Linked DNA regions of Homo sapiens: regions 1 and 2 are each linked to region 3. The links are contacts of gene promoters, found by promoter capture Hi-C in human tissues and cell types (Jung and others, 2019). All regions are on one chromosome and are shown on one strand. Each heading gives the region's core, a stretch centred on a gene start or on the middle of the fragment in contact. The rest is flanking DNA. Distances are from core to core; before and after follow the strand shown.

The links. The method cuts DNA at HindIII sites, captures the fragments that hold promoters and counts their contacts. A contact is called where the count stands out against the background at its distance.
Region 1: a fragment that was not itself captured here is called in contact with the fragment with the promoter of CENPV in region 3 in 2 of the 25 tissues and cell types used here (adrenal gland and hippocampus).
Region 2: a fragment that was not itself captured here is called in contact with the fragment with the promoter of CENPV in region 3 in 1 of the 25 tissues and cell types used here (aorta).

What each region holds. Positions count from the first base shown.
Region 1 is chr17:16,034,181-16,037,159 of GRCh38, forward strand. It overlaps NCOR1 (nuclear receptor corepressor 1), which reads right to left. Exons shown (of 46, transcript NM_006311.4): 45 at 585-764. It also overlaps a transcript of TTC19 not described here. Among named protein-coding and RNA genes, the nearest start is that of TTC19, 36 kb to the left of the region's middle. The HindIII fragment of the contact is 6,456 bases long and covers 1-2,979 here.
Region 2 is chr17:16,077,844-16,080,864 of GRCh38, forward strand. It overlaps NCOR1 (nuclear receptor corepressor 1), which reads right to left. Exons shown (of 46, transcript NM_006311.4): 24 at 2,764-2,884; 25 at 2,565-2,666; 26 at 2,121-2,221. Among named protein-coding and RNA genes, the nearest start is that of SNORD163, 74 kb to the right of the region's middle. The HindIII fragment of the contact is 6,091 bases long and covers 1-3,021 here.
Region 3 is chr17:16,351,312-16,354,771 of GRCh38, forward strand. CENPV (centromere protein V) reads right to left here and starts at 2,158. Exons shown (of 5, transcript NM_181716.3): 1 at 1,716-2,158. The coding sequence starts at 2,125. RefSeq lists silencers at 1,548-2,157, 2,218-2,367. The HindIII fragment of the contact is 38,840 bases long and covers 851-3,460 here.

The sequences.
Region 1 (2,979 bases), core at 252-2,751, 320 kb before region 3:
GCTACCAGTGTAATACAGAAGTGAGGAGAATGGTTGAGATTATTTTTTCATAGCTCTTCCTTTGTTTATGGTAATCAGGCTTTGCATTCTAAAAATGTTTCAGGTTATATGTGCATTCAGTTTCTATTCTGGGTGTGTGCATTGGTTGACTCCTGTAATACTAACACTTTGTGAGGCCAAGGCAGGAGGAATGAGTTCAGGAGTTCGAGACCAGCCTGGGCAACGTAGTGAGACCTTGTCCCTACAAAAAATAAAAATTAAAATGAAAATGAAAAAAATTAGCCAGGCATGGTCGTGCACGCCTGTAGTCCCAGCTACTTGGGTCGCTCAGGTGAGAGGATCACCTGAGCCTCAGAGGTCGAGGCTGCAGTGAGCCATGATCATGCCATTGCATTCCAGCCTGGGTGACAGAACAAGACCCCTCAAAAAAATACTTCTATTCGGGAAAGTGGAACATATTAATGATACAGAAATGGGAATATAGGTTTCCAAATTAGAAGAGTTGCTGAATTTTGAAGAACTAATAACCAAGACATTGATATTATTGCTCTGTCTCATTTTCTAAGTTAAAGCAGAATCCTTACCTGTTGAAGAGGGCCTGTCTTCCCAGGCCCACCCTGGCGTCTGCCTATGGTAATCCCCTTCTGAATGTACAGAGGAGACTGAAGAGGGCCGTTCCGTTCCTAAGTAGCCTTGCCCAGGTATAGGAGACTTAGATTTCCTGCTGTTTGACTTGCTGATCAGCTTTGGTTTGCAAACTCCTCCTGAAAGTGAAATTCAAGTTAAAGTATTAATATATTAAGTTCTCAAAAATTACCAAAATGCTAATGATTATATATTGCTAAATGAAAAAAAAGCAGAATGGTAACATGAAGAATCCAGATCCTGGTACTCAATGAAATAAAATACTACAGGCATACCTCAGAGATACTGAGGGTTTAGTAAGTCACAATTATTTTGCTGGTGGATGGTCTTGCCTCCATGTTGATGGCTGCTGACTAATCTGCATGGCGGTTGCCAAAGGCTGGGATGGCTGTGGCAATTTCTTTTCCTTTCATGAAAGACTTATTTGTAGCATGCAATGATAGCATTTTAGCCACAGTAGAACTTTCAAAATTGGAGTTGATCCCTCAAACCCTTCTTTATTAACTGGGTTTATGTAATGTAGTATTCTAAATCCTTTGTTGTCATTTCAGCCATGTTCACAGCATCTTCAGGGGCAGATTCAATCTCAAGAAACCACTTTCTTTGCTCATCCCTAAGAAGCAACTCCTCATCCATTTCAAGTTTGATCATGAGATTGCAGCAATTCAGTTACATCTTCAGGCTCCACTACTAGTTCTCTTGTTCTTTTTTTTTTTTTTTTTTTTTTAAGGCAGGGTCTCACCTCTGCTGCCCAGGCTGCACTGCAGTGGCACAATCACGGCTTACCAGCTCACTAAAGCCTCAACTTCTTGGGCTCAAGCAATCCTCCCACCTCAGACCCAAGTAGCTGGGACCACAGGTACACACCACCACACCCGGCTACTTTTTAAAATTTTTGTAGAGATGGGGTCTCACCATGTTGCCCAGGTTGGTCTCAAACTCCTGGGTTCAAGTGATTCTACTGCCTCAGCCACCCAAAGTGCTGGGATTACAGGCATGAGTCATCATACCCGGCCTCTCTTGCTATTTCTCCTACACCTGCAGTGACTCCCTCCACTGACGTCTTGATCCCCTCCCAAGTTATCCATGGGAGCTGGAATCATCTTTTTCCAAACTCCTGTTAATGTTGATATTCTTACCTCCTCCCATGAATTACAAATGTCGTTAATAGCATCTAAAATGGTGAATCCTTTTCAGAAGGTTTTCAGTTTACTTTGCTCAGATCCGTCAGAGGAATCACTATGGCAGCTATTGCCTTATGAAATGTATTTCTTAAATAATAAGACTTGAAAGTAGAAATTATTCCTTGATCCATGGGCTTCAGAATGGATGTTGTGTTAGCAGGCATGAAAACAACATTCATCTCCTTGAACCTTTCCATCAGAGCTCTTGGGTGACTAAGTGGATTGTTAATGAGCAGTATTGAAAATTATTTTTTCTAAGCAGTAGGTCTGAACAGTGGGCTTAAAATATTCAGCAAGCCATTCTGTAAACACATGCTGTCATCTAGGCTTTGTTCCATTTCTAGAGCACAGGCGAGTAGACCAAGCATAATTCTTAAGTGGCCTAGGATTTTCAGAATGGTAAAGGAGCACTGGCTTCAACTTAAAAGTCACCACCTGCATTAGCCCCTAACAAGAGAGTCAGCCTGTCTTTTGAAGTTTTGGACTCTTCCAGTAGAAGGCTGTTTTGTCTACATGGAAGATCTGTTGTTTAATGCAGTCACCTTTATCAAAGATCTTAGCTAGGTCTTCTGAGTAACTTGCTGCAACATCTTCATCAGCACTTTCTCCCTCACCTTGCACTTTTATGTTACAGAGACGGCTTCTTCAACCTCTGAATGGCCTCTGCTAGCTTCAGCCTTCTCATCTGTGGCTTCCTCGCCTCTCTGAGCCTTCAGAGAATTGAAGAGTTAGGGCTTGGATTAGGATTAGGTTTTGGCTTAAGGGAATGTTGTGGCTGGTTTGGTCTTCTATCCAGACCACTAAAATCTTCTGTGTGTCACGAAACACTGTTTTGCTTTATTACCATTTGTGTGTTCACTGGAATAGCACTTTCAATTTCCTTCAAAAACTTTTCCTTTGCATTCACAATTTGGCTAACTGTTTGGCACATGAGGTCTAGCTTTCAGCCTGTCTTGGCTTTCAACATGCCTTTCTCACTAAGCTTAATCATTTCTAACTTTTCATTTCAAGTGACAGACTTAGTGATTCTTCTTTTCACTTGAACACTTAGAAGCCATTGCAGGGTTAATTGGCCGAATTTGAATATTGTTGTGTGTCAGGGAATAAGGGAGCCAGAGGAGGAGAGAGACAGGGAACAACCAGTCAGTGG
Region 2 (3,021 bases), core at 126-2,625, 270 kb before region 3:
ACCTAATATAAATTTTCTAATAAAAATAAGATGATAAAGTAGTTTTAAATTTAGAGTACTACAACTTTTTCTCAAATTGTGATATGAGGGAAAAATAACTTTCAAATATCAAACTGACTACTAGGTTGTTAGGCCTTTGGATGCCTCTGTGTTTTGACACTGATTCAGTTTAGGTCAGGTTATCTATATTTTCACCATCATCAATCCTCCTCTGGAGTTGCCAATGACCATGATTCTTTTTACCCTTCCTTTAAGCAGCGAGCCCTTCCTTCAAGGAAAATTGTTCATAGAATCTAATACGTAGAGCATTTTGCAAGAGAGAGCAGCTTGGTGTAAAATAGGAGTTAGAGGCCTAGACTGAGTTTACTCACATTTAGGGTCACCACTATACTCTGAGGACTGCTAAAACCCTAGAGAGCACAATCTGATACCATATGCTTAAGAAAAGCGATAAGAGACATACACTTACTTGTCCAGTCATTAAGTGAACTCATTAGTAAGTGTCTAGAAATCCTTAACGCCCACTTCAGAAGTACTCATGTCAAGTGCACAAACAGATTTTAAACAGATAAAATTTAGTCTCCTTTGGCCCAGTTCATACTCTTTCTTCCCACAGTTTGGATGCCAGAGTGAAGAGAAAGAATAATACATACAGGCCCATTTACTTTCCTCTGTCCATATTAAAGTATTAGCTTGCTGTTAAAACAGAAACACACTGACCCAATATAAATGGAGACTTTTTTTTTTTTTGAGACGGAGTCTCACTCTGCCACCCAGGCTGGAGTGCAGTGGCACAATCTCAGCTCACTGCAACCTCCGCCTCCCAGGTTCAAGTGATTCTCTTGCCTCAGCCTCCTGAGTAGCTGGGATTACAGGCGCACACCACTATGCCCGCCTAATTTTTGTATTTTTAGTAGAGACGGGGTTTCACCATGTTGGTCAGGCTGGTCTCAAACTCCTGACCTCGTGATCCGCTCTCCTTGGCCTCCCAAAGTGCTGGGATTACAGGCGTGAGCCACCGCGCCTGGCCTAAAAAGAGAGATTTTAAGAGTCAGTATGTAACTTTCTTTTCTTCTGTTTTTAACTTAACCACAAGGAAGTAGTATGTAAACTACATTTCAGAAAGAAATCACCTGGGAACCTCAGTAAAATGGGGATTTTAATTCACATGATCTAGAGTGCGGACTGACATTTCTGCATTATTCTAGCAAGCATCCCAGTGATGCCAATGCTCTGGTGCACAAACCACACTTGGCCAGCAAAGCCCTAGCTGAATCAGCTAAGGGCTTGGGAAAACACAGACTGCCAGTCCCCACCAACAAGGGTTGGGTTTCAGTAAATCTGGGGTAAGATCTGAAAATTTATATGTGTAGCAATTTTCTAGGTGATTCTGATGCTCCTGGTGTGGGGATCATACTTTGAGAACAACTGTCTTAGAGGATAGTAACTAGACAAATAAAAAACTTGTGACAATGAGTGAACACTTTAGAAAATGCAAGGCACAGGTTTCTGTTTACAATGATTTCCCAAAACAGAATTTTCCCTCTTATGCATATACATAAAGAGGCTAAGAACTTCTTAAGTATCAAGTTAAAATTAACAACTAACTGAGAGAAATTTTATTAATCAAAATTGGTGATGTATTTAGCCCAAAATTGGAAGGCTTCTGGTGCTTTTGTTAATACCATCCACATTTCCTGGTTTAGCATTAGATTCTAACAAGGCAGCCCACATACTGAGATTCTACAACTACATCTCCACCAGGGCAAAAGTAAGCAAATAATTCGTAATGATTTTCTTCTCAATTTCTATTTAGGCTAAACACATGGTAAAAGCTTTTCCAGGAAGACAATAAGAGCTGCATCAATTAGAACATATTTCTTTTTCCAGTTTGCAAATAAGTGACCTTTTCAAATGAACCAAAGTATTCATAATATAGCTTGTAGTCAAAATGATCACATTAACGTCTCTGTGGAGACAGTTTGCAGATCTAGGTTATGAGACCCAGTCCCATAATGCAGAAAAATGAACTTAAGCCACAAAATAGCCAAAGTGCTAAGAATTATTTATCATTTTTTCCTGAGCTTCTGTTGAGTATATCAGAGATGATCGTGACTAACCTGAGTGATAGAGCCCCGTAGGGATGGAATGCTCTCCACTGAAATTTTGCTGGTTGGAGTTCCCCGAGTTATACTTCCTTCTTGTATGGCTCCTGCGGTACCTGAATACAAACAAAGCTATTAGCAAATTACACCCCCAGCCCCTGCCCCAAAACATAAAAAAACAGCCCCTACTTGGGAGAGTACTCAACTAAGAAGAAAAGAAAAAAGCAGCACAAAACCCATCATGTTTGTTTTATTAAAATGTACTTCCAAAATAATACTAAAGAACTGCTGAAACATGGAACTTCAAGGTTTTAAAATGACTTTTACATGGAAAGAAAACAAATTTAGAATTTAAAGACTATAGTTAAAAAAGCCCATCATTAAAATATATTAATAACTTACTTTAATAAATTTATTGGGGACAAAAGTTTAACATTTCTGCCAACCAGCATATTTTACCTCTGACTACACCTTCATGTTGGGCCCTGACCAACAGACCCTCAGGTTGTGAGTTTTGGCTTCGGGGAGAAAATTCTTCCTGCTTGATGTAGGGCAAAGTAGCTGTGGAAAGGCAGAGAAACATGAAACAATCCAGTACTAAATTACTGGCTGTGATGCTACAAACGTAGATGCATTATGACTGTATTAACTCACTGACCTGATTTGGCAGATTCCTGTTGCCGTGGCAGTCCAAGAGAGATAGATCCCACTGACGGCTTGGGTGTTTCTTGAGTGTAGGAAGCCTGATTATGAGAAGTCAAATAAGTGCCTGGTGTTCCCTAAGAAAAAAACAAAAAAAAATTTAAAGATTAAGCAAACATTGTTTTTTTCACAAGGTCAATTTCACAAAGTCAGCATTCCCATTTCTGTTTAAAAAAAAAAAAAATTATACCCCTTCTACCCAAAACCAAGAATA
Region 3 (3,460 bases), core at 908-3,407:
TCGCTTTCCAAAAGGATTGAACACCCTTACCCGATAAATAAATGAGAAAACATTTCACTGTACAGTCTCAGGCAATAATTATAGGAAAAATAGCTCACTGCAGTTTTAATTTGCATGATTAAGACTGATCATTTTTTCATGTTTCTTTACGTTTATGTATTTTAATTTTTTCTGCACACATAATGCTTATTGTAAAAACTCCAAACTTCACACTATTTGAGAGTGCTCAAAGTGAAAGCCTCCTGTAATCTTTACACCCAGAGGGATCTACAGTTAATTATTTGTTATATATTCCCCCAAACTTTTTTCTACACAATATTTTAACGAAAATGGTACAGTTATACACACTTTTTGAATATAATTTAGTAGACTTTATAAGTACAAAGTCATGGCAATCTAGTGGGAGAAAAACAGCTTTTTTATGTCAATATTTTAAAACTTTTTCTTGACCATTTATCAGTTTGTCTTAAAATAAAAATTTATCTCAAATTTGAGTTTTACATTCTTCTTTTTTTCTGTATGCCTTGAAGACACCATGAGTTTTACATTCCTAAGGATCTTCGTATTCCTTCTGCCCAGAGGCAGCCGTCACCCTATAGGTGCTCAAATGTTTGATGGATGAACGTTTTTTAAAAATTCAGTGTGCAGTCCAAGATGAAAAACCAAAAAGTGAAGCACACAGAAAACCAAATATGTATCTTCTGTCGGGGACGACTCATCCTAAGAGAATTTCTTCCGCAAGAAGCTCAAAGGAACATGTTCAAGAAAAGAAGTAATTCTCAGGTTATGCAATTGCTAGGTTATTCTTGTCGGTTTTTTCCCCCTAGTGTTTTGATTGTTCTTTTTAATTCGTAAAATTGACACTGAAATATAATATCAGGGCGTTAAAATATCTCTCTGTAGCACAACTGTTCCCCGAGGCAGGAATCCAGATCGCATTTGGAGAAAAGAAGGCAGCCCTTTAACAGCCCAGTTAAAAGCTCTTTCCCAAATCGCGGACACTCGAGATGCTCCTCGGGCCATCTAAAAGACTGCGGAGCAGCCAGGAGGGCGAGCGGCAGGGAGCATTAGCTGGCTGAGCACATAAAAGCCTCCCTACGTAGGTATCCCCGCCGCCGCGCGAGGCCGGAGCATCTCTTCGCGCGCGCTTCTCTCCCGGATCAATAACCTCCGCCCCCTGCTCCCTCCCTGGCAGTGCCTGGAACAATGACGGGATTTTGCTTCCCAGTGAGTTCAAAACTATTCATGCTTCCTTCAACGCTTCTACCTTTCCCTTCCACCCACCCTCAAAAACACGTGTGCAAACACAAAAAAAAAGGGGATTCGGGTAAGAGAAAGCCGTGGGATTTATGTTCTTTTCACTAAGAAAGGCCCCCACACCCTTTGCGCGCCAGCAAGAGACAACGTCCCCGAGCACGATGCTTATGGCCGGGAAAGACTCTTTGTGTCCCAAGACGGCTGCGCGCGCCCTCAAGCTCCGGACGAAGCCCCCTTTCCATTCCCAGGCCACACAGCCCTAGAAGCACCGCCCCGCCCCGCCGCCCTTAGAATTAAGGAATAACCCCAGTGCTAACGGGGGAGCCGCGTCGGCTCCGTAACGTGGAAGGCTCAGAGCTGAAAGGCGCCCAAGGCCTGCACGCGGGCTGCGAGCCCGACTCCTGCCGAGGGGGTCCGCGTGGCAACGGCTCCCGCGCCCCCCGGCCCGCCGCACTCACAAGGTGTCTAGCAGGAGCTTGGCGGCACCCTCGGAGGTAAGCTTCTGCCGCTTCTGGAACGTCTCCCAGCGCTCCCGCTGCTCGCCCAGGTCCAGGTTGGACGCCGAGGACGTCGGGGTCGCGGGAGTCGGCGGCGGCGGCGGCGGTGGCGGGAGCAACGCCAGCTCAGGCGGCGGCGGCTCCCCCGGGCCCTCCTCCTGGGCCCGCGGCGACGAGCGCCTCAGCCGCGGCTTCTCCGACGGCGGCTTCTCCACCGCCTGGCTCTTGCTCCCGGCCTGGCTAGCGGAGCGCCGTGTGCGGGTGGCGCTGGGTGCCAAGGCAGCGGCCGCGGAGGCCGCGGGGGCCGCGGAGGCCCCGGACCGCTTCTGCCCGCGCAGCTTGGCGGCCGCAGAGCTCCTCGATCGCCGCATGGCTCCCGCAGCCTGGCGCGCAGGCCTCGCAGCGCGGCGCGCCCCCGCCGGCCTGCGCGCGCCCCCGCCGCCCGCCAGTCTTCAGGCCCAGGGGGCGCTGCGCCCGGCTGCCCCGCTCCGCCAGCCGCGCCCCGCAGCGCGGCGCCTGCCCGCAGGAGGGAGACCCGGCCCGCCCGGCCGCTGGGACGCACCTGCCTGTTCAGTCCCGCAGGCAGAGGGGCTGCGCCTGGGCCTACGCTCGCGATACCCAGAATCCACTCGCACCTGCGAAGGCGCCCCTGCCCTGTGTGAATCCAGCGGGCTCTTCGTACCTTCCCGACCTGGAGGGGCCTGGGTTGGGCCTGAATTCGCAGGCTCATCCGAGCGGGCAGCCTGGGGTAACTTCGTCTCCAAAAACGAGCTAATTTGTGTAAACGGCCTGCCACCTGCTACCTCCTGTGTAACAGCGGCCGAAACCATAGTTCTTCACCTTCGTCTTTTCTGTCACATTATAGAACAGTGTCATGAGGATACCAATAGTCAACAGATTTGGGGTTTCATTTTAATTAAATGAATGACCCGCGCGTCGAATTTCATTAGTATGATTTTGATGAAGGCAGCACCAAAGTTTAAAGACAAAAGGCACGAGAATCGTTGATGGAACCCAGATAGTCTTCTTCTCCTTCTCCTTCTTCTTCTTTTTTCAGACCGAGTTTCGCTCTTGTTGCCCAGGCTGGAGTGCAGTGACGCGATCTCGCCTCACCGCAACCTCCGCCTCCCAGGTTCAAGCGATTCTCCTGCCTCAGCCTCCTGAGTAGCTGGGATTACAGGCATTCGCCACCACACCCGGCTAATTTTGTATTTTTAGTAGAGACGGGGTTTCACCATGTTGGTCAGGCTGGTGCCGAATACTCCCGACCTCAGGTGATCCATCCGCCTCGGCCTCCCAAAGCGCTGGGATTACAGGCCTGAGCCACCGGGCCCAGCCTATCTTTCTTTTTTTTTTTTTTTTTTTTTTCTTTTTTGGAGTCTCACTCTGTCGCCAGGCTGGAGTGCAGTGGCGCGATCTCGGTTCACGCAACCTCCGCCTCACCGTTCCAGCGATTCTCCTGCGTCAGCCTATCTTTCTTCTTTATTCTGATTTTCTTCATGGTATTGTTAGTTTAATAGTTTATTGAATTAAAGGCATAGTTTAACTATTTTGTCTTTTTTTTTTTTTTTCCATACAGGATCTGACAGACTGGAGTGCAGTAGCGGGATCTCGGCTCAGTGTAGCCAAGAACTCCTGGCCTCAAGCGATCCTGCCGCCTGGGCCTCTGGAGTAGCTGAGTAGCTGGAACAACAGGCGGCGCCCCC